4 separate regions of the Homo sapiens genome follow, and all the other regions are linked to region 1. The links are contacts of gene promoters, found by promoter capture Hi-C in human tissues and cell types (Jung and others, 2019). All regions are on one chromosome and are shown on one strand. The core of a region is centred on a gene start or on the middle of the fragment in contact, and the rest is flanking DNA. Distances in the headings are between cores, read along the strand shown. Region 1 holds the start of KCNJ6 (potassium inwardly rectifying channel subfamily J member 6). Region 2 has its middle 63 kb from the start of KCNJ6. Region 3 overlaps KCNJ6 (potassium inwardly rectifying channel subfamily J member 6). Region 4 has its middle 45 kb from the start of KCNJ6.

Evidence for each region. The method cuts DNA at HindIII sites, captures the fragments that hold promoters and counts their contacts. A contact is called where the count stands out against the background at its distance.
Region 2: a contact is called between a fragment that was not itself captured here and the fragment with the promoter of KCNJ6 in region 1, in 6 of the 25 tissues and cell types used here (H1 embryonic stem cells, aorta, dorsolateral prefrontal cortex and 3 more).
Region 3: a fragment that was not itself captured here is called in contact with the fragment with the promoter of KCNJ6 in region 1 in 6 of the 25 tissues and cell types used here (IMR-90 fibroblasts, aorta, dorsolateral prefrontal cortex and 3 more).
Region 4: a contact is called between a fragment that was not itself captured here and the fragment with the promoter of KCNJ6 in region 1, in 1 of the 25 tissues and cell types used here (thymus).

Annotation. Positions count from the first base shown.
Region 1 is chr21:37,913,650-37,920,345 of GRCh38, reverse strand. It overlaps KCNJ6 (potassium inwardly rectifying channel subfamily J member 6), which reads left to right and starts at 3,889. Exons shown (of 4, transcript NM_002240.5): 1 at 3,889-4,462. The HindIII fragment of the contact is 8,322 bases long and covers 1-5,671 here.
Region 2 is chr21:37,975,890-37,982,585 of GRCh38, reverse strand. No RefSeq gene overlaps it. Among named protein-coding and RNA genes, the nearest start is that of KCNJ6, 63 kb to the right of the region's middle. The HindIII fragment of the contact is 4,184 bases long and covers 566-4,749 here.
Region 3 is chr21:37,861,270-37,867,965 of GRCh38, reverse strand. The region is part of intron 1 of KCNJ6 (potassium inwardly rectifying channel subfamily J member 6); the gene reads left to right. Among named protein-coding and RNA genes, the nearest start is that of KCNJ6, 52 kb to the left of the region's middle. The HindIII fragment of the contact is 4,187 bases long and covers 1,203-5,389 here.
Region 4 is chr21:37,957,834-37,964,529 of GRCh38, reverse strand. No RefSeq gene overlaps it. Among named protein-coding and RNA genes, the nearest start is that of KCNJ6, 45 kb to the right of the region's middle. The HindIII fragment of the contact is 5,417 bases long and covers 411-5,827 here.

The sequences.
Region 1 (6,696 bases), core at 2,640-5,139:
TGCTCACTTGAGGCGTTCTTCCCTTACCAGCCAAGTGTTCCTAGAAGAAGGTTAGATGACAGTTAAACTGTGCCATTTTGCCTTAGTCCACATGCTTGAGCCCACTCACCTAAGTCCTGAGATGTCATCAGGAAGCTGCTGATCACCAGCTTCGGTGTTTCTGTCTATTGGGAGACCACTTTTTCTGGTGCCAGCTGTGACCAATTATTATTGTAGACGGACAGTTTAACAACTGCCTGACCATCACCTGACGGTCTCCTGGCATGCCTGGTGGGGAAGGCCCTCTTCTGCCCTGCTCATGTCTGACTAGCTACCTACTGTAACAAAAATAAGGAAAACACGTAGGAGATAAAAGTGTATCAAGGGAAAAGGGCATAACTCAATAATTGTTCTAAATTATCCTAAAGTTCTAAAGACCAGCCCCAAAATGCCTCAGAGCTAAAACCCCTCTGAAACCCCCTCCTTAGCAAAAATTCTTAACTTTTTACACCTAGAAATATTTCTTAAGAATTAAGATGTATTTCTTAATACATCTCCAAATTTATAATCAATCAAAGAAATACCAACCGCTGTTTACAGATATTCCCTAAATAAGAGACATGAATGAAATCCATCTGAAGTGGCTACTGCTGTCTGTGGTATATACCCTGGGGTTCATTGTCATGCACTGAGAAAGAATTCGGCACACAGACACAGGTGAGTGGGTTAAGGAGCAGAAAGTGTAATAGAAGAAAGGAGAGAGGAGGGGAGAGCAGCTCCTCACGAGCAAGAGACACGTGGAAAAGGGAGAAGGTAGAGGACCGCAGCAGATTTTATACGCAGGCTGGAGAAGGCGGTGTCTGATTTACAGAGGGCTCACAGGTTGGTTCACTCAGGTATGATGTCTACATAGTGTGCTGGGAAGGCTAGTTGCCCCACCCTAATCTTCTTATGCAAATGGACTTTCCAGTTGATTGGCACCATCTTGTCTGCTCGTTTACAGTACACGTGGCTAACAGAGACGGGAAGATGGGACCGCCATATTTAACATCTTTAGTCCTTAGTTCCTGCCCGCATTCACCTGTGCAAGCTCCCAGCTTGCAGGCTGCTTGCTCTCTTAGAAAATTATTTGGGGCTGATTTTCATTAAAAAGAAAAGCCTTACCTAGGACTCCCATACCCTTACTATCTGCCTAAGTAATTGCTTCTTAACTCCTATATCACATTCAGTACACTGGAAGTACAAATGTAAAATAGAATAATTTTAACACTTATCTCTTGATACTCTTTAAGATGTCCTTTTATAGACAAAATAAATTTTTTAAAATTTATGTTCCCATCTCTGCATTTTAAATATATTGTTTATCTGTGGTAGGGTTTTTGTGGAGAAAGCAGGCAGGGGAGTGAAACTGAAAAAGAACTAGGTCTCTTAATAGTTAGACCCACAACAGCTAAGGTCTTAAATCTAAAACAAGTACTGGCCCAAGGGTGGAGACCAAAAACTCCCAACCATCTTAGTTCTGGTGTCAGCCTGTCTAAGGCAAGGCCAGATCTACACATGGGCCAAGAAGATAGAATGGTTTATAAATTGCCGCAATCAATGACAGAGAAAAACAAGATTACCCAAAACAAATGACAGCCCGTCAAGATAATTCAGTTTGTTAATTTTACTAGCTAATAAGTCTCCATTACAGCTTTATATGTGGGAGACAAACCAGTCTCATCTGTATGACATAATCAATCAATTATAAAAGTCACTGTGAGATTTGGAGCACTGATTTACCCTGAAAGATCTTCTCCCCCAGGCCTTGCCTTCACCTGAAATCATAAAATAGATATATAAGTGAGATTTCAGACAAGCTAAACACAATGTAGTTTGAGAGACCAGGCTCTCAGGAGCTCAGAGGAGCCACAATTTGCAGCTCTGAAGCACAGCTCGCCTGATTTTCAGATGTGGCTGCAGTCTCTTAGTTACACCCATGCAGATCACTTTATCAGAACTCTACGGAATAAATGAATGAATTCAGTTAAGCCAATTGCTCTTGTCTCTGGTGTTTATCAAATCCCAGGCTGTGTTAATGGGATCCATCTCATTCAACACGTGCTCTTATGCCATTCACAAAGTGCTATTGCCCACATCACCCCGGCAGCTGTTTCAAGTAGGGGAGTTTTCAAAGTATTTGAAGGAGACAAATAGGTTACTTCCAACTCTTGACTTTCTTATTTAGTCTAATATCTTGTAAGAAAGATACTTTGTGAAATCATTCTACTGGTAAAAGTATATATCATCAAAATTAGCAGGCATACCCATAGCAGCTTCACAGATTAAACAGAATGCCCTTTACACAACTATAGTCAACATGGGTTGTTCTTTTAATGTTCTAAGGCTGTGTCCACCGAAATCCTGCATCTTGCATTTGTATTCCTGGTCTCTCAGGGATTATTTGGTTCAGTTGTTCTTTGTTTATTTGTAACACTATCACTAGATCCAGCAGGCATTGTGGAGCACGTATTACACATACTACAGATATTACACATACTCATATCTTCTGTATATGGGATATATGACTCAGAAGTAATAGCAAGTCAGATTACAACCTCTTAGGGAAAATCAACAGCAAATACAAGCTCACAGGCCGTGTGTACGGTTGACTTTTACATGACTTTGGATGCAAATTGACACAAACACCTCTCCATATTACAGTCATTTTTAGAGGGCAGACAGCATTCTTGAGGGGACCTGAATTGCTAGGTAATTAAAATGTATGTATGTAGAATAAAATAATCTTGGAAATAAGAGGTTTCCGTAAGCCTTCTCTCTAAAATAAGGTCACCTTCTTTGAGGTAGAGATTCTGTGCCTTGTGGAAGGAAAGCCACTTCATAAAGCAGCACAAGAATAGCCAGTTATTGAAAGGGCCATTATAAAATTACTAGCCAATGGTATTCGCTACTCTTACAATTTGTCAATCCATTCATCCCTAGGAAAAAGACAGCATAAAAGAGAGTTCTGTTCATAGGTAGAAGCAATTTATGGGAAGACTTTGGAAATGTAGAACCATTGTTTTTGATGACCATAAGAAAAAGAGGGGGTGCAAGAGGGGAGCACTATGAGGGGCCCCTGGAATAACAGCACAAAGCAAGTTAGATTCAAAGAGTGGAGTAGACCTTTGTCTAAGGGGCTTATCCTGACAAATTCAACTTTGAAGGCAGCCTGGGTCATTCTTGGAAAAGGCCATTCTTTGTCTCCAGTGACCCCAGAGACATCATATAAGGATGGGGTGATGATGCAGCAGCCGGGACCAGGTCCCAGTTGCAGTGGACAGGACAGAAGGGACTGAATGGGGCAGCAGGCTGGGGCGCCACCAGGTGCAAGCAAAGCTCAGGGATAGGGCCCCTCCCCTCCGTCCCGGCCGCTCGCTGCGCCCCCTCTGGGCGGTGCAGGCTCCGGCTCCCGCGCCGGGGCTGCCTCTCACGGATTTCAGCCCGGTGGGAGGCAGTGCCCAGAGCCTCTTTTTCCTTATCTCACAAAACCCTAAAAGCCGAACCCCTACAACCAGCAGACAAAACTGCTCCCCGAGCTTCGGCTCTTTCCTGCTTTCCAGGCGTTTCTCCGGGAATAACTTACTTAGTGGCACTGGGAGAAAGGTTGGGACTGGGGGGTCGGGGACCGAAACCCAAAAGATTCCCCCAGCATGGAGCACCCACGTTTCCAGTGGCGGGGGATGCACGTTGGTTTGTGCCCAGCCCGCCCCCACCAAGCCCGGTCCTCGACGCGCTGACACGCTAGCTGGCATGGGCGGCGGGGTGGGCGTCTCTGGGTCTGTGGCTCTGTCCTGCTCGCCCCCGCCCCTTCCTCCCGGACCGCGCCGGCGCTGTGCGGCTTTTTCCCCAGCACGCGGCGCTGCACTCGCTTTTATCTCGGAGCCGCGTCGCTTCGTGCGCTGCCAGCGGGGCTCAGCCAGTCGGCTGGAATTGAGTAGCATTCATTGAATCTGCGGATTTCATGACGTCTCTCTGCGTGGTCCACCACTTTTCTCCTAACCGGGGATTTTTTTTTTCTTCTGCCACTCTTATCTTTCCCCACTTCATTCCACCCAGTCTCCCTCCCCCGTCCCTGCCCAAACGCGCGCCCCTCCGCCCCTCCCTTGGCCCCAGCGCCCAGCCCTGCTCTCCGCGCTCGGCCAGAGGGAGCCAGTCCGGAGACGGCCGCACCTGGCTGGAGAGGCTGGGCGGGCGGAGGGGTGGAGACCCGCGGACGCCGGGAAGCCGGACCTGGAGCCGGAGCAGCCGCGAGCAGAATGGAGTCTCCTAACAGCCTCTCGGTGCTGATGTGAAATTTGACCATCTGATTCCAGTTTTTTTCTTTTCCTTTTCTTTTTTGCATTTCCTTCCCTCGCCATCCGTCGTGTAGTGAATTGTTCAGTCTTGCTCCGTTTCAAGAGAGGAGATCATGATTGAGTGAAGCCACCCCGTCCGCAGCCAGGTAAGCGGTGCGCTGAGCTGCTCGCAGGCGAGGAGCTGGCGTCCACCTGGGCGAGGCGTTCCGTGCTCTCGGGTCCCCGCGTCCCCTTCCCCAGCTCCGCCGTCGCCGCAGGCATCTCCACTCTCATGAGAAACATTGTGCCCAAGTCAGCCGAAAGGCGAGGGAGAAGCCGGTTACATAACAGAAGGGGAATCTGTTTCATACGGTTTTCATTAGCGACTGAAACTCGCACGGGGGGCGGGGGAAGGAGGGGTCTGCATCCCTGGGCTCGCAGAAACCCAGTCAGTTATTGCAGACATCATTTCAACATCCGCTGGCAAAGACTTAAATGCACTGATTAACTGACAGGTGCGGCTTGTGATGTAGTCATTTACAGTTGGGAAAAGCCTATTGTCTTTGTGGAAGGCAGTCTTCTTGTTCTGCTTTGCATGGAGAGGAGAGGAGACAACACGAAAGGGAGGAAAAGTGAGGGTTGGGGAGAAACATGCGGAGAATGGGAAACAGAATACTGTAACTCCTAACTGTTCTCTATCCTTAAAACCGAAGATGTGCTAGCATGACTAAAAACAGTGAATAGGAAGATCTTCCTAGGAGTAAACTGAATTATTTTGTAATTGGAAGGGAAGAAAAAACACTTTAGATAAAATGAGATGTGTGTGGCATTTAGAGGACTGGGTGGCTGTGGATATTTGCTTCCCTGTGGATATATTTTCATTTTCATCAAAACATTAAGCTTGGATTAGTTTTTAAGTGAAATAACATCAGTATTCCCAAAACCCAATAAAAGCCCAGTGGATCCACAGGTACATCTGTTGTACTAGGTGCAATATGGAGAGATTGTCAGGGGGAAAATATATCTTAATAGAAACAGCCACAGAGGGTGAGGTTAGTGGAGAAACAAAATACCAGAATTTTCCAAAGAATTCCGCCTCCAACCCCCAAAAAAAGGAAGAGAAAAAAAAAAAAACCCCACAACTCCAGTGTTTGGGAGTTGGAGATGTATTATATGTTTAGAGTGTTTCCCAACTGCTGTTATCCAAAGTCTGTCGGTCCCGGGGAGCCCTACGGTACAGGGAGCAATGCCACATCCTGCTAGCCCTGTTCCCTGCCTGCCTTTCTTTTGCTGAAAAAAAGAAACGGAAAAGGGTGATGCCCAGGAACTGCTTAGGGAGAAAAAAGGGCTTGCTACAGTCAGGGCTGAGCTAACTGAGCTTCGCCCATTTTGCCTGGAGAAAGAAAAAGAGCTCGAGTCTCCATGGCGACCCAGGTGGGAGGGGAGACCGCAGCTCCAGTTATAGGGGAAAAAAATTGGACAAAACTTTCCCGGCTCCAGGCAAAGGAATACGCCAGCCGCGTGCCCTGTGGCGGGTCCCAGGGCATCGGTTGTGCCCAACTCCCTGACGGCGACGCTCGAGAGGGCGCCCAGAGCTGGCCGGGTGCCCCTGAAACCTCCCGAAAGTTGCCTGGGGGCCGCCGAGGTGGTGGTTCCTCAGCGGGTTCCGGATTCAGCACCAAGGCCAGAGCCCAGGCGCCGAGGGTGAAGCCTCACCTGTCTGCAGCCCCCAGCAAGCAGTACCCACTCCTTTGGTCGCTGGAGGTCAATCACTTTCTATAAATAAATGAGTCTTTGGCTCGTGCAGAATCTGGATATCAAATTACCCACGGAATTACGTGAGGCAAAGAAGCTTGCAAATCATCCATTTTATGCATGGCGGTGCATCAGAGGACCTATTCAGAATCAAGAACACTGGGACAGGGAAAGACCTGAGCTGAACTGAGAGTGGAGACAGGATTCTGTCCTCAGGGGGAGAAAAAGGACGCGCGCGCGCACAGACACACACACACACACACACACACACACACACACACACACACCCCGATCCGCCTCTGACGAGGGTTGCTAGTTTCAGCTGAGTCCCTTTGGCTTTCAAAAGCATGCATCCCTTGCCCTCTCACGCTCTTCTCTTTAACTTTTTGTTGGGCATAGATGGCAGAAGGGAGCTGTGGAAGCACCCTGGTCAGCGAGAGGCCAGCCAACCAAGTTTGTTATTTCTTTCTTTCTTTTTTAGACGGAGTCTCGCTGTGTCACCCAGGCTAGAGTGCAGTGGCTCGATCTCGGCTCACTGCAACCTCTGCGTCCCGGTTTCAAGCGATTCTCCTACCTCAGCCTCCTGAGTAGCTGGGATTACAGGCGCACACCACAACACCTGGCTAATTTTTGTATTTTTAGTAGA
Region 2 (6,696 bases), core at 1,408-3,907, 63 kb before region 1:
TTAGCAACATAAAGGGCTTAAGAAAAATGGCTTCTAAGTGTAAATCAGAAAGAGTGATGAGAGACTTTTATTCAAAATCCACGAGCCAGGTGTACTATACCCTGCGCCAGGTTAAATGCTCACAGCCCTTGTATTCAGATGGAGGCCTCCATGTGGGACAGCACAGTACAAACACACAGGCTGTATAAACAACACACCACTGCACATGCCACAGCCCCAGGAAGGTGAGTTATGGGAGTGATTGGGGATTACGGGTCTGCTCCATTGTAGAGGACAGACATACAAGTAGAGAAAGAGAATTTTGAGGGAAATTACTATTTCAAACCATTTTCATATATTGAGAATTTCTCTTTTCCATCCAGCCCCCCTCCCAAGTGACCATCTGAATTGAGATACCCTTCCTGATGGCCAATGAGCTACATGCACAGAATCTAAATTATAAAAGGACTTCACACATGCTCTCCTAATTTGCATGATTCAAAGACAACGACCACAGACCAGACTTCCCACAAGGGGGAAACGACAAAGACGGGGTTGGGAGGGGTTTGCCTAGGTCTAAAGCTTTAAGCTTGAGTACACAATTGAAATTTTGATTCAGTACCCCAGAGGTGAGAGTTCTTTAATATTCCTAATTTATCCCACAAATAGAATTTCCTCTAGGCCCCAGCGCTCAAAGATGCCATTACTCACTGTGGTTTGAAATGGAAAATGGAAAGGGATTCTTTTCTTATTTTAGGAAGTCAAAAGGTGGGGCTGAAAAGCAAGCATCTTGTTGTTGTTTAACGAACTTGGGTCTAAATATCAGTATAGCTTAGTCTGTTCCATCAATGATTTCACCTCGACTCCTGCTTAGCCGCCAAGATGCCTTTCTTTGGCCCCTCTTGCAACCAGGTGGAATCTAAGGATAAGAGTTTCCACATTTGGCCAGGCGCGCTGGCTCACACCTGTAATCCCAGCACTTTGGGAGGCCGAGGCGGGCGGATCACGAGGTCAGGAGATTGAGACCATCCTGGCTAACATGGTGAAACCCCGTCTCTACTTAAAAAATACAAAAAATTAGCCGGGCGTGGTGGCGGGTGCCTGTAGTCCCAGCTACTCGGGAGGCTGAGGCAGGAGAATGGTGTGAACCCGGGAGGCGGAGCTTGCAGTGAGCCGAGATCGCGCCACTGCACTCCAGCCTGGGCGACAGAGCGAGACTCCGTCTCAAAAAAAAAAAAAAAAAAAAAGAGTTTCCACATTTTGGCCCTCACTTCAGCACCCATCTCCTCTGCATGGTTGAGAATCCTGCCACACACCTGGTTATTTCGCAGGGAGGGGGTCAGCAGGTCGAGGAGCTCAGGGCCCCTACTTCCCACAGCACAAGAGATAACTTTCTGCAGACAAGATACACGAGGAGTGTATGAAAGTCAAAATAAAACACCGTCTTGAAAAACAGCTGGCTCGCTGGCTCCCTGTGAAGTGATAAGAATCTGTTCATTGGTTTTAGATTCAAATCAATTACTATTCAGAGGAATCCATCAGCTCTCCACCACCGTCACCCATCCCATTTGTTCTTTTATTAATTCTAGTTATTTGTGTGTGGAACTGGGGGTGATCATTCCTCTGGGCCTGTGTTCTAACTAAGTTCCTTTAAAAAAAAATCCCGGTTTTTTTTTTTTTTTTCTAAATAGAAAAGCAATCTATGCCTGTTATATAAAATACAATAGTAAGGATAACAATTGTTCTTTTATCTTTTACCTTCTAAGTGTCGTATTGTGATATTTCACATGATTTCTTACATCACCCTCACAATTAACATAAGTAGATATTACTTATTCCTAATTTATAGATGAAACAACTGAGATTTAGGGAAGCTCAGAATTTGGCCATGACCATTCAGATGGCAGGTGTGAGAATATAATCTAGTCACTCTGGTCCAGAATGGGCACTCACTCTGTCCTGTTAGGTATAGCAAAATGTGGGAAAATCAGACATAAAAGTTCCCCCCATTGCTGCCATGCAGAGATGACTGCAATTATAGTTTGGAGACTTACCATTAATTTTCCACTCATTTGTAACTGACCAAACAATTCATGCAGACAGAACCATTTTGTAACTTGCTTTTCCCCCATTTAACAGTATGTCTCTAACGTCTTTCTACATCAGTACATGTAGATCATTCATTTTCTTCTGTGTACTCTTCTTGCAGCTTTGCTGGTAGTGTCTTCTCTTCTGCAGCCCTGGCCTGGAGGCAAGTGTGATCTCTCTGCAGCATTTGACACAGTGTTCCCTCTCTCCCTCCAGAGCAGACTTTCTTTCCCTCCATCAAAACACCAGCACTGAGTTTCACGTCATCAGAATACACCACTTTCCTGCCCTGCTGGTCATCATCCTTGACCGACTCCCATTCACTGCCGCTCATTCCTTGGAGATTTAGCTCCTAGTTTACTGACATGTTCATCAACACTACTGAGGATATCAACAATTCGAGGTTTCAATATCCATGAGATAAATCTTCCAGTATTCTGTCTTCTCCATTCCCTGACCTCCTCTCTTGCAAAGATTTTACCTTCACTTTCTCTCAACCTCTTCCTTCCTAGACCTTGTCATCCTCAATCATTTTATTTTGTTTGGTTTCAGGCATTTCACTTTCCCAGCACTACCTCACATTTCCCAACATCTTTCTTGCACTAACTCAGTTCCGACTTCTTCAGCACCAACAGGATCAACCACGCAAATTCTACTTTTTCCTATCCCTTACCATCGTTTCGTCCTTACCAACATCTTAAGCCAACTTGCAGTCTATGGTCAATCAAGATAATAACTTCATCAATTTCCCTCTCCCCTTCTAACTTAGTATTGCTAACTTGGCAAAACCAAAACACTATTAAAACCCAAGTCTACGCTCATTGCCCACCTACACTGGCAGGGCTGCATAAGAGTGGAGGAAAACTCAGTGTTGCAAACTGGCCTCATTTTAAATGATTGGATAGTAATCCTGCATCAGTGCCCATTTAGAATGCCATCTCTCTTATTCCAGAGGAACCCTTCCCAATGCCTAGCAAAGGCCAGTGCCCTACTTGCATTCCTGATCCCTTCCCTCCTCCCTAGTCAAGGACCTCCCTCTTGTACATCTGCTCACTTTCTCCTGAACCATTTATTTTTTCTCTCTGTTGCTAATCTTTCTCATCAGCAAACATACATGCTATTACCTCTCCCGTCTAAGAAACAGGCAAACAAACAAAACTCTGAACCTTCCTTCCCCTCCAGTCACCATTCTACCATTCCTTTTCCCTTTTCCCTTCCAAGTAAAACTCCTTCAAGGAGCAAACTATTCTCATTGTTGCTAATCTCTTTCCTCCTATACCTCCCCAACTTTTCTAATTGGAGCAAAATTGGCAAACAGTAAAAGGCACATATCTTAAGTATATAGTTTGGTGAATTTTGAAAGATGTATGCACCCACACAACTCCCACCATGATTAAGATCATCAAGGTGGAAAGCTTTTCCATCACTCAGAAACCTCTACTGAGTCCCCACTCCCAAGAGCAACCATTGTTCTGATTTCTATCAGCCTAAGTTAGTGTTGCCTGTTCTTTCCTGTCACATCAATTAAATTATGCTGTGTATATTCTTTGTGACTAGCTTCTTTATACGCAACGCAATGTTTTATGGATTCTCTTATGCTGTTACCTGTATCAGTGACAAACACTTTTGTGTGTATACCACAATTTTCCCTTTATTAATTAAATTTTTAGTAATTTTCCCTTCAATGATTACACGGATTATTTTCAGTGTTTGACTGGCATGAGTAACCTCCTATAAATATTCTTATGCAAGACATTTTGTGGACAAATATTTTCATTTTCATTTGTCTTGGGCTATACCTTGGAATAGAATAGATAGGTCATTAAGAAGGTGTATAGACCAGGTGCAGTGGCTCATGTCTGTAATCCCAGCACTTTGTGAGGCCACAGCAGGAGGACTGCTCGAGCCCAGGTGTTCAAGACCAGCCTGGGCAACGTGACGAAACCCAGTCTCTACAAAAAATACAAAAATTAGCCAGGCATGGCGGTGCACGTGTTTAGTCCCGGCTACTTGGGAGGCTGACATGGGAGGATCACCTGAGCCTGGGGAGGTAGAGGCTGCAGTGACCCATGACCATGCCACTGTACTCCAGCCTGAGTGACAGAGGGAAACTCTGCCTCAAAAAACAAAACAAAACAAAAACACACACAAAAAAAAAACAAAGAAGAAGAAGAAGGAGGAGGAGGTATATAGTTAACTTTGTGAAAAGCTGTCAAACAGTTTCCAAAGTGGTTGTGTCATCTTAGGCTACCATCAGCTGTGTATGAGAGTTGCAGTTGCTCTGCATCCTCACAAACATTTGATGTTATCAATCTTTTTAATTTTAGCTAATTCTAGAGGGTGTGAAATTGCATCTTGTGGTTTTAATTTGCATTTTCCTAGTGACTAATGTTGTTGAGCATCTTTTCATATTCCTATTGGCTATTCCTGTATCTTCTTTTGTGGAGTTTCTGTTAAGAATTTTGCTCCATTTTTTTATTGGATTGTGGCTTTTTCCATATTGATTTGTAGGAGTTCTTTATGTGCTCTGGGTACAAAGCCTTTGTCAAGTATATGTGTTGCTAATACTTTCTCAGAGTCTGCAGTTTGCCTTTGCATTTCCTTAATAGTATTTATCAATAAGTAGTAGTTTCTAATTTTGCTACTGTGGTCATATATTTTGCTTTTACCTTAAGCTGCCATTTGTTCTTTAAATAAATTAAGAGGGCCTTCTGTTCTCATCTAGTAGTGTTCTTCCCTTAACCAATCCTGCAAATTAATTCCTTCAAATTGTCTGTGGCCTATGATGAGTTTTATTGCCACCCAGGTTAGCCTTTTTTACAACAGTAATTTCACACTGATGTGTGTCAAAAACACAGTGGTGTAATGACAACTTACTGAGGATGATATAATGAGCTCTCTCATTTCACAAAGCCCCCCATGATCTCACCCCGATCAGTCTTTCCAGCCTAATGTTATAACCTTCCTCCCTTCTCCCATAGGTTCCAAGCCCCAGCGTTATGGTTCCTCCTCTTTTTTCACCTTCACATGGTTGGTTTCTTCTTCATCTTCAAATGTCACTTACATTTCCTGACCAATTTAGAGTAGGCATCATAGTTCTTCTCTATTGCATCTCTCTACTTCAGTCTCTACAGATGCCACTATCAATATTTCACTGTTGCTTCATTGATTAACTCTTTTTACTCTCTCCTTTCATTCTCCAGCTCTAAGCTCCATGACAACAGGGACCACATTTCTCTTATTTCTTTGCTGTATTCCAGCACCTACAATAGTGTGCTCGACATATGAGTTGAATGAATAAATGAATGAGATGGTAAAATCCCCTCCCACCCCCCAAAATCAACTATTTTGCTTTGCTTTCCTTCATTTTGTTTTGTTTTCCTTAAGCTAAAAGAATCTGGTTTTATTTTCTAGGTATCAGACAGCGCTTGTTAAAAATATTGCTGGCTCAGTCTAGCAGTCATTCTTAAGATGTCTACTTTATTTTTTAAAACTTACTTATTTGATGTATTAATTATACATCCTGATTGTTCTATTAATTCCATTTCCTCAAGCAGATGATTTTCCATTTATTGAGCCTGTTGTCGCTCTCTAACATTGTTAGAGATCAAATGTCTCAGGAAGGGGAGACATAATGGAGTGAATCTGGCTGATGACCACCATGGTCATTCCCCAGCAAACCACCCCTTAGGTTTCCCCTGGACTCTGCCTGCCCCGACTTCTTCCATCTCAGATAAGGAGGACCCTGTATGCTGCTAACATCTATGGACGTGTATGCATGGCCATCTCTTGGCTTGTGGCATCCCTCTTCCATCGTGTCCCATCTGCTCTCAACCTTTTAGGGATTATAGAGTAGGTGGGAAAGGGCAGCATGCTTCTAATCCACCGTTTTGGAAACAAAGACAATAAAACTTGAAATCAATTTCCAGAGTTTTCAAAAGCTCAAAGCTTAAGTTCAGGGACTCTTACCGTGACTGCAAAATTAATTCACAAATAGGCCGGGCACGGTGGCTCACGCCTGTAATCCCAGCATTTTGGAAGGCCAAAATGGGCAGATCATGAGGTCAGGAGATCGAGACCATCCTGGCTAACACGGTGAAACCCCGTCTCTACTAAAAATACGAAAAAATTAGCCAGGCGTGGTGGCCGGCGCCTGTAGTTCCAGCTACTGGGGAGGCTGAGGCAGGAGAATGGCGTGAATCCAGGAGGCGGAGCTTGCAGTGAGCCGAGATCGCGCCACTGCACTCCAGCCTGGGCGACAGAGCGAGACTCCATCTCAAAAAAAAAAAAAAAAAAAAAAAAAAAATTAATTAATTCACAAACAAGGCTGCCTGCTCCACGTGTAATTTATGTTTCCCAGTGAAATTACCCCTGAAAACTAAAGGAAAGTTTGTTTTGAGATGTCCATGATGTGATTTCATATTGGATATTGGTTTTGGAATTAAAATAGAAAAAAAATTAGCTGGGAGTTTAAACTTAGGTTAAATAATCCTATCTCAACCACTAAATAAGCAGATGGACCTTTGACAAATCACTAGACTCTTTTTTTTTTTTCCTGTAGAGTCAGGGTCTTGCTATGTTGCCCAGGCTGGTCTCAAACTCCTAACATCAAGTGATCCTCCCACCTCA
Region 3 (6,696 bases), core at 2,047-4,546, 52 kb after region 1:
ACCTTTCTGTCCCCAGCTACCTGCTATATAAAGGCCAAGTCCTAATGAAAGTGCAACCACACCTGGCTCTTCAGAGACTGTTGACATATAAACCCAAAGTGCAAGGTACCATTAATATCTCAGAGATCATGACCTTGGATGATCCTTCTGCCCCCTGGCTTTTCCCTCTCTGTTCACCAGTCTCTTCGCTGCCTGATTGTTGTGGTAATATATTTACCGTGTAACCTTCTGTTATTTTTATCATATGGTTTTTCACCATCTGCTGTGTGGTTCTACAGCTGACATCACTCTTTGCAAGGTAAGGTCTGGTCTGCTACACAATCTATTATTGTCGCTTTTATTACCGTTTGGCCCATTTCAATTGTTGTTTTTGGAAGCAGGTAGGATATAAAGTACAAATACGTAAACAAATGTTTATATAAAGATGAGGCAGAGATGGATTTCACTCTTCTTCAAAAAACTATAAAAGCATCTCTTGATATTACTCTCAAAAGGCAAGATAAAGGATCTGTATTTTGCCCTAACTTTTAAAAATAAAAATAAAACAGTTTGCTTTCATTCATATTGTCCCTGCTGCAAGCTTGGCTGCATGGGGCTTTCTGGGGGCCAGTGACCCCTCAGCTCTCCTCACTGGACAGATTTTTGTCCCTGACTCTGAGTGCGATGCTGCCTCTGATGTTGCTCCCTGTAGTACCCTAGACACCTCAGGTGTTATTAAAGGATGATTTTTAAATAGCGTAAAATCATGACTCTCAGGCAAATATAAAACTAACATATGGAAAATATTTTATTACACTTATTAATTAATAAGGAAATCATATAAATGTTACAAAAGATTCAAAGAAGAAGTCAAAGAATGGCACATTTCTATGGAGTTAAGGAATGTCAAGATGGCTTTTTCTATGAGAAGGGATATTATTTGAGCATCCACCTAACAGAATTTATTTGCCAGTCTATACACAATAATCATGTTTGCGTTGCCAATTATAACTGCACTGCCATCAGTTCTCTACAATTTAGAGATTGTAAAAATAGCTGAATGGCAATGAATAGCTAGAATCAGAAAACCTAGAAGGATATGTTCTAAGTAATGCGTAGTTTTGTATTGAAGACATCCAGTAATCTTCATTGCTTATTCATCATTCCCATCCTCCTTTCTCTTTCCAACAGCCGTTGGCCATCTCTAGTTCATCCTGTGGCCCCCAGATCTCAAGAGACATGGTCCTCTTGACCATGGCCTGGTGGCAGGTGAATCTGGCTGAAGTGCTGTTTCGTGGGAATTGCCAATGGACCCTTTTGACATTCTCTGTACTTAGTTTCTGATCCCACACTTTTCTTGCTCATTCTCCCCAGTTGCCAGTAGGCAGGGACCAATGTCCAGCTGGTCATTCCATTTGAATGCAACCCTGGCCTCACTGTCCAGCTCCGGCCAGGTCTGTTCCTTTAGCAAAAGCTGCACAAAAGTATGTGAAAGGTCGGGCTCCTGGTTCAGTGAAGAACCAGCAGCCTGTGCCCACCCAAGGACCAATTTCCTCCTTCCATCCATCTATAGAAACCCAAAGGTATTCTCCCAACTCATCAGATCCACTTGTTAATTGTGATGTCTCTCCTGGTATACCAGTCAGGGTTCAATAGAGAAGCAGAATGAGGAAGTGATATACAGTAAGAGGCTTATTACAAGACATTGTGTTATGTAATTGTGAGGGCTGACTAAGCAAGTCTTAAAGCCTGAAGGGCAGGCCACCAAGAACAGCAGGCAGGAGCTCTCAGGCAGGAACTGAATCCACCATCCACAGACAGAATGTCTTCTTTTCTCAGGGAAGCTTCAAGCCAGCGTTTAAAGAACTTTGCCTAATTGAGTCAGGCCCACTCAGATTATCTGCGATAACCTCCCCTTAATTTAAAGTCAACCAATTATGATCACATCCACAAAATATCTTCACAGCAACACCTAAGTTAGTAGTCTAAGAAGTTTCCTGATATGATTTTTTTTAATTTGTTGAAATTTGGTTTGTGGTCTAACACACGATCTACACTGCTGAGAGTTTCATGTGCTGATGAGCACATAAATGTGTGTTCTGCAACGGTTGAGTGAGATGTTCTGTAAATGTCTGTTAGGACCATTTGGTCTTGAGTGCAGTTTAAATCCAACACTTCTTTGTTGATCTTCTATCTAGATGATCTGTCCAAGACTGAGAGTGGGGTGTTGAAGTCCCCAGTCACCAAATTATAAACCACCCCATAAAAACCAGACAGTGGGAAAGTGCCTGAGTTATCATTTATGAAAGCATCAGCAAGAGCACGTAGTGCCTCAGCCCTTAACAGGGGTATGACATGGACAAGTTCTTTCTAAGCTGGCTCCTCCATTCATAAAATGATTAATTAGATAAGCTATAAGGAGCTCAAAAAATTGCTTGTTCTACCACTGGCTTCTCAAAGAGGAGCTGGATCCGTATTGTACAGAATGAGACAGTTCAAGCTCAGAAGAGTCAGGCCCCTGCCTCCCCCTCCAGCCAGTGTCTTTCCTTTCCTCTCCTGCCCATGCAGACAGCTGAGAACTGGGGGTGGACATGATGGGACACGACTGGCAAAAAAACAGTATATACGGTTATCTGAAAATATTTGCATAAGGCCTCCTCCACTTTTTTTCTGTATAATGGTAACTTCTGTTTTTCGTATCAAGTGAAGTAGAGTATTTCTTGGTGATTTCAGCATCACGTTAAAAATACAGCTCTTTCCACCAGACACACACTTTACATTATTCCCAGCATATCTGAATCACCTATCAATAGGGCCTCCAGCTTTTCTAACACTCCTACACGGAGTTTCTGTACACAAATTATGTTTGGGGTCAGGATTAGGGCTCAATCCTGGAGGTACTTGGGATCTAGCTCTAAATAGTGAAGATAAGGAAACCAGCTTCTCTTGAAGCCTCATGGGCATAGAGAACATCTTTTTCTGGGCCAGGCACAGTGACTCATGCCTGTAATCCCAGCACTTTGGGAGTCCAAGGCAAGAGGATCACTTGAGCCCCAAATTTCAAGACCAGCCTGGGCAATACAACAAGACCCAGTCTCAAAAAAAAAAAAAAAAAGAGAGAGAGACAGATGGGGAGAATGGGGACTGATGTACCCACAGAAGTGCTAGAGACCCCTAAAGCATGCCTTGGTGTTTTCACTTCAGTAAAAGTAAAACAAAGTGTCCTCTACTCATTTTTAGAGGAGACTTTGGAAAGGCATAAGTTTGCTAGGAGCAAGTGCCTTTGAAGAGACAGCTCCTGTAACAGTCCAATAAGACAATGCAAACACGTGGCCCTACCAGAAGGGCCTGAGTCCCTCCACCTCTGAAACCCCTGCACATCTTCAAAGCTTTGTATTTGAAGCTACCTAATCATGCACAGAGCTTACAAGTCTGGGTAACTTGTTGTCTAGTTCTCTCTAGGTTTCATCTCTCACCTGACTTGTTTTTGCGGTGTATTAAACAATGGCATACAGATATTTAATCTGAATGCCAATGTTTTAAAAAAGAAACACTATTAAAGAACTGGATATTCCTGGCCGGCCATGGTGGCTCACACCTGTAATCCTAGCTCTTTGGGAGGCTGAGGCAGGTGGCTCACCTGAGGTCAGGAATTCAAGACCACCCTGGCCAACACGTGAAACCTCCTCTCTCCTAAAAATACAAAAATTAACCAGGCATGGTGGTGCACACTTGTTGTCCCAGCTACTTGGGAGGCTGAGGTGGGAGGATCACTTGAATGTAGGAGGCAGAGATTGCAGTCAGCCAAGATCACACCATTGCACTCTAGACTGGGTGACAGGGTGAGAATCTACCTAAAACAAAAAAAAAAAATAGAGAATTGGAGAATTGCATATTCCTTTCCTGTGTCTCTGTCAAGCGTCAGCTGTTGGATGACGTAGACTGAAACCGGCCTCAAGCCCCACAACCCGGCTTGTGATGCCGGATGACTCATTGGCCTGAAAAGCTGATATTTTCATATGGTCTTTCCTGAGGTCCCATCATTTCAAGCAGTTTAAACTCAACCTCCAAACTGCCAATATAGCAGAAGCTCACCTTCTCTCTCTTCACCAAAAAAAAAAAAAAACAAAAAAAAAAAAACCTTTATATTTTAAAATTGCTTAAAGAGACAATGTAAGCCAATAAGACTTTTAGGAGCCATGGAGCATTTTTTTTCTTACAAGAGTTACAGCAGTGCACATAAGTAGCAGCTAAATATTATTTTAGAAGTGGGGCGTTGATGTTATAAACCTATTAGCTCTTAATTCCAGCTAATTATGCATTTTGTCACATGTAGCAAAGTGCCTGTGGAAACCTATTTTAATAATATTTTAATAACCTTATTTCCTGATGCACAAAAACGATTGTAGATATCAACCACACCCTGTGCATAAAGCAAAATACATCCAAATCGTTAAAAATATAAATGTCTGGCACCAGAGGTACTTCCTGAAGAATAAACTCTCAAAAATTCAGTCATAAATGGACACAGCCCTTTCAAGTCTCTCTGTACCCACTCTAAATCAGATTTGCAATAAATCAAAGTTGGTACCTGTGCGATACCCATCAATATTAAGAAGCTGAGGGTATAGCATATGGGCAAAGAGTCAAATTCGCTTCCAGCCATTGGGGCTACTGTGTTGGTTACTGTGGAGGCACAGTAAGTAGTCAGGCGTAACAATCTCTGAATTTCAAAAACTAAGAACCTAAAATTTTATTACTCCATGTTTTACTCATTTAAGCAGACATACTAATAAATCAGGAATTACTGTGCCTAAAATATTAATGAATCAAATAACACAAAATAAGCAAAATGTTAAAGAAAAGACTATAAAACATGTTTTTCCTCTTTCCTCAGTTTTACTACATTGATCTTCACCAGTAATTCTCTGCTGTGAATGTCGAGTGTCTATGCTCTCCATGATTGTCTATGCTCTTCATGAGCACGGCTCTGCTGTTGGCTCTCTCCATTCACCTTGTCCGAATCTTCCTAGCCTTTTTAAGAGTCTCTGTCCTACCTTTTGAAAACCAGTAGCTGTGGCTACTCTCCTGTAGGTCTGACTGCTTCATCTTGGAGCCAGTCCTGCTTTTTCCTCCTGGCAACAAATGATGTCACACATCAGTCAAGATGTCTGCCCTGTCTCTCCCCTGGCTGTTGAGGGGACCGACTTAGCAGCTCAAAATTCTAAGGCATTGTACTCTTTTACAAAACTGCCAGAATGTGTTCAACTAAGTCAGCCTACCGCTAGCACAAATAGAAGAGGAAGAACCCCCAGTTTCTTCATATTTCTCTGACTATCTACACAGGGTAAACACAGTCTCTGCAGCTGCTGTTGCAAAATACAAATTTACCAGGTGGCTGCCCAGATAGAAGCAAGATCACCCAAGTTGACAGATGCTGTGTCTAGGCTTTTTCGTGATATATTAGCTTGAACTCAGATCATAATTTCCCCTGCAGTTTGAGCTACTTAACAAAGCCTTCGCCTTTTAGAATTAAAGCACAGCTAGATACTTGGTCCTCACAGACTTGAATGCCACAATGTGTATACATGCATGCATGCCTGTGTGTATAAAGGTGACATTTACAAAACAGAAAAGTTAAAATAGAAGACTTCTCTGCTTGCCAAAAAAAGCACATTGGATATTTACTATAAATAGTGACCCCCTCCAGCCCTGCCTATTTAAGGTAGACTTGGACTTAAAATTCACACACAATGTTTGGGGGATTCAACTGTTGTATAGAGTGAGGTTCACCTGATTGTAAGCAAAATACAGCCCTTTTCCACAGCTCTCATGGAAGAATTCCAACCACTGGCGATTCTGACACCTTATGTAAGATTGGAAACTGGTTCCAAGAAGGGCTGTCTTCTAAGCCTTACTTGGGGCTTGAGGAGCAGGCCAAGGAACGAGATAGACATGGGCTTGTTTGATTAGAGTGGAGGTGTGTTCTGCAGCGGGGCTTGAGCCACCCACTTGACTGAGTGCTGACCTACAGCCCCACTACTGGAAGCTCAGGGTACCCACACCCTCCTCTCCTTTCCAGTCACCAGCTTGCCCAGGGGCCCAGCATCAACACCTCAGTGAGGCTGATGGTCCCCTACTTGCCACTGGGCTATGAAGGAGTCATTTAAATTTTAGTGAACACAATCCAAGGCCCGGAGTGTTCCCCAGTTTGGTGCTTCTCAAGGACATTCCTCAAGTACCTTCTCAGCTTGGCACCCAGTAGTCACTCCATGTTTTATGGCTGTGGGGCAGAGGGACCAGCTCTGTGGGAAATGCTCTCAGGCTTCCAAGGGGTCATTACTGAGACACTGAAGTGTGCTGAAAAATGCATGTCTGCCTGCTGAGATACAGGGCTAACCATGTCGCAACCCTACTTCTCCAGATGTTAGGGGCTAAATTGCATGCCCTCAAAATTTGTATGTTGAAGTCCTAACCCCCAGTACCTCAGAATGGGACTGTATTTGGAGATAGAGCCTTTAAAGAAGTGATAGAGGTAAAATGAGGTCACTAGGGTGGGCTTTAATCCAAGCTGACTGGTGGTCTTATAAGAAGAGAAGATGAGGACACAGGCACACACAGAGGGACAACCCTATAAGGACACAGGGAGAAGACGCCATCCCCAAGCCAAGGACAGAGGCCTCCAAGGAACCAGCCCCACTGAAACCTTGGTCTTGG
Region 4 (6,696 bases), core at 1,870-4,369, 45 kb before region 1:
AGCATCTCTGGGCCTAGCTTATCCCCATAGCTACACCATTTTCATCTGGGGCTTTTTTTTTTTTTTATGGAGTCTCACTCTGTCACTCAGGCTGGAGTGCAATGGCATGATCTTGGCTCACGGCAACCTCCACCTCCCAGGTTCAAGCGATTCTCTTGCCTCAGCCTCCTGAGTAGCTGGGAATACAGACACGTGCCACCATGCCAGGCTAATCTTTGTATTTTTAGTAGAGGTGGGGTTTCACCATGTTGGCCAGGCTGGTCTCAAACTTCTGACCTCAGGTGATCCCCCTGCCTCGGCCTCCCAAAGTGCTGGGATTACAGGCATGAGCCACTGTGCCCAGCCTCATCTGGGGGTTTAATCAGAGCCTGAGGTCTCTAAGCTTCCGGTCATCATTCACTCATCACTACTTAGCATCTTTCCTCAATTTTTAAAAGCTTTTTACTTCACAGTAATTTTGAACTTACAAAAAAAGTTGCAAAAATAATACAAACTATTCCCATGTAGGTTTTACTCAGATTTATCAATATTTAATATTTGCCCACATTTATTTTTCATATTCTCTCTCCTTCAAAGTCTATTGGTAAATGACTGTGTATACACACACATGCACACACACATAATTTGTTTTCTCTGAAAGTTTTGAGAGTAAATTTCATACATCATGCCTCTTTACCTTTTAATACTTCAAGCCATATTTCCTAAGAACAAGGATATTCTCTTTAAAAAGAAAACCTAGGTTTTCTTCTAGGATTTTTATCGTTTTGGGTCTTACATTTAAGTCTTTAATCCATCTTCAGTTAATTTTTGTATAAGGCGTAAGGAAGGGGTCCAGTTTCAGTTTTCTGCATATGGCTAGCCGGTCTTCCCAACACCATTTATTAAATAGGGAATCCTTTCCCCATTGCTTGTTTGTGAACCATCATTCTCAGCAAACTAACACAAGAACAGAAAACCAAACACCGCATGTTCTCACTCATAAGTGGGAGTCGAACAATGAAAACACAGGGACACAGGGAGGGGAACATCACACACCGGGGTCTGTCGGGGGGTGGGGGCCTAGCGGAGGGATAGCATTAGGAGAAATACCTAATGTAGGTGATAGGTTGATGGGTGCAGCAAACCACCATGGCAAGTGTATACCTATACAAAACTGCAAGTTCTGCACATGTACCCCAGAACTTAAAGTATAATAAAAAAAAGGAAATCTAAAAAATAAATAAATAAAATAAAGCAAAAATAAAAAAAGAAAACCATAGGTAACAATTCAAGAAATTTAACATTGATCAAATCTTTTGTCTAAACACAGACTGTATTCCAATTTGCCAATAGTCAAAAAATGCTCTGTGTAGAAATCTTCCCTCCAGTTTAAGATCCAGTTTAAGATCATGAATAGCATGTATTTATTGTGTTCCCAGGCTTTTTAATCTGGACTATTTCCTCAGCCTCTCCGTAGTATGACATTGACATTTTCGAAGACTATAGGCCATTCATTTTCTAAAGAATTGCTCAAAGTGGTCTCTGATGTTTCCTTGTGCTTGGATTCAGGTACCACCTCCCTGAATGGAAATCTACATGGAGAAGATTTGTCCTTCTCAGGGCATCACATCAGAGGCCACAGTGTCCACGGCAGTTCAATGAGGATGCTCATTTTGGTCTCTGGGGCAAAGAATTGTATAGAACCTCTGCTGTACACTGACAATTTTTACTCTTGCTTTTACTTAGTGGTCAATAGGGAGACTTTTTTTTTTTTTTTTTTTTTTTTGAGATGGAGTCTCGCTCTGTCACCCAGGCTGGAGTGCAGTGGCACGATCTCAGCTCACTGCAACCTCCACCTCCCGGGTTCAAGCAATTCTCCTGCCTCAGCCTCCCGAGTAGCTGGGATTAGCGCCACCATGCCCGGCTAATTTTTGTATTTTTTTAGTAGAGGCGAGATTTCACCATGTTGATCAGGCTGGTCTTGAACCCCTGACCTCGTGATCCGCCCACCTCGGCCTCCCAAAGTGCTGGGATTACAGGCGTCTGCCACTGTGCCTGGCCGGGAGACATTTTTAGACTATGCAAGTGTTCTTCCATAGATTTGGCATCCATTGATGATCTTTGTTCAAATAGTCTTCACTATGATGATCAAAATGCAAAACAGTTTTAAGGTTTTTTTAAACAATAACCTTTAATCAACAGTCTAAAGTAGAATACTTAAATTTCTTTAACAACTAAAGAAACACATGGAATTATCCACACTTCTTGATTTCTTGACTCCCATAGAAGAACCTCCTTCTTCTATGGAAGGAGGGCCCCAAGCCTCATCTATTCACGGGGAGGGAGTCCCCTGGGAGGTGTGAGTTTCTCCAGGGGGACAGTCATGGGACTATGCTCCCAGCTTTTAGAAAGTCTCCACCTTAAGTGAGCAGACGTTGCTTAACAAAGGTGCCTCTGAGCTCTCAGGTCCAAAGGCAAGACCATGTTTTCTTAATTTTCAGATCCAGTGATGTCAGTTATCTCATTTTTTATTGATAGCATCATAGTTACACATATTTTGGGGCTACATGCCATAGTTTGTTACACATATACAATGTGTATGGACCAAATCAGGGTAATTGAGACAGCCATCGCCTGAAACATTTATCATTTCTTTGTGTTGGGAACATTTCAATTCTTCTCTTCACCTATCTTGAAATACGTAATAAATTACTGTTAACTATAATTTCCCTACTTTTCTATCAAATACTAGAACTTATTCCTTCTATCTAGCTATATTTTTGGACCCATTCACCAACTTCTTCATCCTCCCACACCCCTCTTTCCTCAGGTGGTACCTTTTTTATTTTTAAGAGGCATTTGTGGATGAGTATTAGCTTAAGTGTCCCTTATATAGAGATGACCAATTGTCTCTAATTTCCCCAGATCATTTCAGTGTATGACACTTGCACTGGTGTAATTAATGATAGCATACTCTTTCACTTTCAAAAGTCATCTCCATAGAAGATAAATTCTATCATCACCTCTACTTATGGACCTATTTTTTCAAATAAATATCTAAGTACTTATTCCAGGTCTACAGCATCTTTTACTGAAATGGAAATTACTTTTTTCCTGATTCTAAGAAGAATCCATAATCTTTGTGAAAAAGACCAGAAAATCTAGGGGAATAAGTAAAAAAAAAAAGAAAGAAAAAAAAGAAACTTACACTTAATCCCATGTATTAGCTTGTTCCACTTGTGAGGTTGCTTTAGTTTATCAATATTTTCACATCCACTTTCACATTTGATTTTCATAACTACACTGTAACACAGCTGAGCTGTGATGATTATATTTTCCTGTTTTACAGTTGAAGACATTGAGCCGAAGGATCCTGAAGCCCAAATATTCTGCCTTGAAATCTTGTCTCTCCACTATATCACATTGCCCAAGAGATGCATGTAAAGGGAAACACACCGTAATGATAGTAGCAGCAATAACAGCTGAAATTATTGAGTTCTTACTAGGTGCATGCCCTTAAAGCTCTAATCAGTCTTAGGAGGTTGGCACTAATGGAGAAAGTGATGTTTAGTGAGGATAAGCAATTGCCTAATATCTCTCTCACAGCTCATAAGTGATGTATTTGTGCTTGTCAAGTTCACACCTGCCCAGCTTCTATGCCTGAGCTCATGGCCACTATGATCTACCCACTTGACATTTGCTAAAATATATTCAATTGAGGTATAGTTCACATACAATAAAATACACCCATTTTAAATGTATGGTTCCATAAATTGTGGGACATGTATATACAATGCAACCATCACCAATGCTATGGTTTGAATATTTGTGTTCTCTCCAAATGTATATGTTGAAATCCTAACCCCCAAGGTGATGATATTAGGAGGTGGGAGGTGATTAGGTCATGAGTGGGGAGCCCTCCTGAGTGGGATTAGTGCCCTTATAAAAAGAGACTCCAGGGAGCTCCCTTGTCCCTCCCACCAGGTGAGATCATAGTGAATAGGTGCAGTCTATGAACCTGGAATGAGGCCCTCACCAGACACTGACTCTGACAGCATCTTGATCTTGGGAGTCCCAGTCTCCAGAGCTGTGGGAGGTAAGTTTCTGTTGTGTACAAACCACTCGATATATAGCATTCTGTTACAGCCACCTGATGGACTAAGACAACCACAATCAAGATTTTGAACATTCCTGCCACCCCCAGTAGTTTCCCTGTGCCCTTCTGCAGTCAGTCCCTACTCCTTGGATGGCCTCAGGCAACCACCGTCTGTTTTCTTTCACTATAGCCTAGTTTCGTCTTTTTTTTTTTTTTTTTTTTTTTTGTATTTCGTATACATGGAATCATATGGTAATGTACTTTGTAATGTGACAAGGTTGAATTTTAGCTGAGTCTGGGCTCCTGAAAAAACAGCAAAGTTTCAAAGAATTCCCCCCACCCTTTCATGCTCTGGGAAACACCGTTCCCCACAGGACTTAGCTACAGTTCATGATGTTCTCTGTTACTTAGGACAAGGCCAGACCCAGACCCTCCAACTTCCCATTCTTTGCCTCATAAATGATTGGCTGATCTCCTTGTTGCCACTGATCAAATGGAACAAAATACTTGTTAGACAAAGATTAAGATTTGGTTATCCTCAGCCAAAGCCTGCAGACAACCCCTCCAGAGAATAAACTAGCTTCAGGTAAAACATTTTCACCCCCACTTTCCCTCACTCAGTTCTTCCTAGCCTTGTTCACTCCTCTCTATAATAGAAAAATGCTGCTTGCCTTAACCTTTGAGATAAGTGTCCACATTATAGATAGAATGTTTTCTCTATGGCAATACCCTTCCCACCCCCACTGCAATAATCCTTTTATATAAAGTCTCTCCAGTGAGTCCAGATTTGTTTTTATTTGATGTGTCTGGCCTCACTTGCTCAGCATGATGGTTTTTTGTTTTGTTTTGTTTTTGAGACAGAGTTTTGCTCTTGTTGCCCAGGCTGGGCTGCAATGGTGCAATCTCAGCTCAGTGCAACCTCCGCCTCCTGGCTTCAAGCAATCCTCCTTCCTCAGCCTCCCGAGTGGCTGAGATTACAGGCATGTGCCACCACGCCCAGCTAATTTTGTATTTTTAGTAGAGACAGGGTTTCGCCATGTTGGTCAGGCTGATCTCGAACTCCTGACCTCAGGTGATCCACCCGACTCACTCTCCCAAAGTGCGGGGATTACACATGTGAGCCACCACACCCGGCCGTAGTGTAACATTTTAAAGAGTCATCGATCATGTTTTCCATTGTATCAACAGTTTGTTTCTTTTTGTTGCTGAGTAATAGTCCAACATATACAATTTGTTTATCCATTCTACAATTGATGTCTGTTTGAGTTGATTTTATTTTTTTAAGAGAGGCAGGGATTGACAATTACACAATTCTCGAAGAAGTCTTTTTGTGGACAGGTGCTTCATTGCTCTGGGTAAATATCTAGGAGTGAAATTGCTGGGTAACCCACATTACATCTTTAAGTAGAATGTCATAGTATCCTCTCCTATGATACTCCCTATGTGGCAGGCATAGGAGAGCAATTTCTGATTAAAAGGCTTCCAGAAGTGAGAAGCTTCAGGGTTTCTTCACTTGTGTTTTACTCACACATGGGCACGTATGACAATTCTTAGAAAACATACGCTTTAAATCAAATTCCCCTATCACCAAATAGCTTGGCATTCAGTGCAGTTCCATAGATGAGGCTGGAACATGTGCACATGAGTTTCTAGCAATACATATGCCCCATCTGCTGAGGGATTGCTTTAATTTGCCCATTTTTAATGCTTCATTCACAGTGTTATAAATATTATGCCCTTTTTTTTTCCGGGCATCTGTTGCTCCCCCCTCTAGTTCTCTCCCCAGTAGAGCCTGGTTTATTGTATTCATAAATAAGAAATGGCAAACATTCATTCTTTTTAAGAACACAAAGGCACATTTCTTTTTATCCCATCAAATTAAGTTCAGCTACTCCACTAGCTAGGATTACATAAGACAATTCCAGTGAGGAGGAAAGAAATCAGCCTTAAAAACACAATCCCCATTTGAATAGGGAGGGAAGAGAACAGATGAGGATGAAGTGCAAGCTTCCCTTTGTGAATTTTCAACTCCACCTTCTGCTCAGATGCCCATTTCACTCTCCAGCCTGTTTTCTTTCGTCCCATCCGGACTTCTTTTGACCAGAGAAGAGAGCTGATGACCAGAGTGTGGACACAGGGCGGAGGTCTGAAGGGAAGAGATGGAGAATGGATACTAGCAGAGGTGGAGAGAGCTGGCAAATGATCTTGCTCCCTGGAGGTCTTATGGATCTGGAAAAGCATTTGCCACGACTCTATTTTTACCCTGCACATTTCCACCTACACGGATCAAATGTGTTCCAACTTTCCAGCACTCAGTCTCCCAGTTTACTGCTTGTCAGAAGCACTGACTACTGCCATCAATAATTTACAGCCTTTAAATGTGGAAGCTACACTGTTCCTGGAACACACACTTACCTGGTAGTGGTGGATTTTTAACCAGAGCCCATAGTCTCAGGTTAATTAAGTCGTAGTCACTATTCCACCCTCCAATTAATGCCATTTAATTCCCAAATAAATATATTGCAAATTTATAATCATTGTAACACCAGTTACTTGTAATTACAGATTTATAAAACAGAACATCCAGCCATATATTAAGAAAGACATTTTAGAGGGATAAA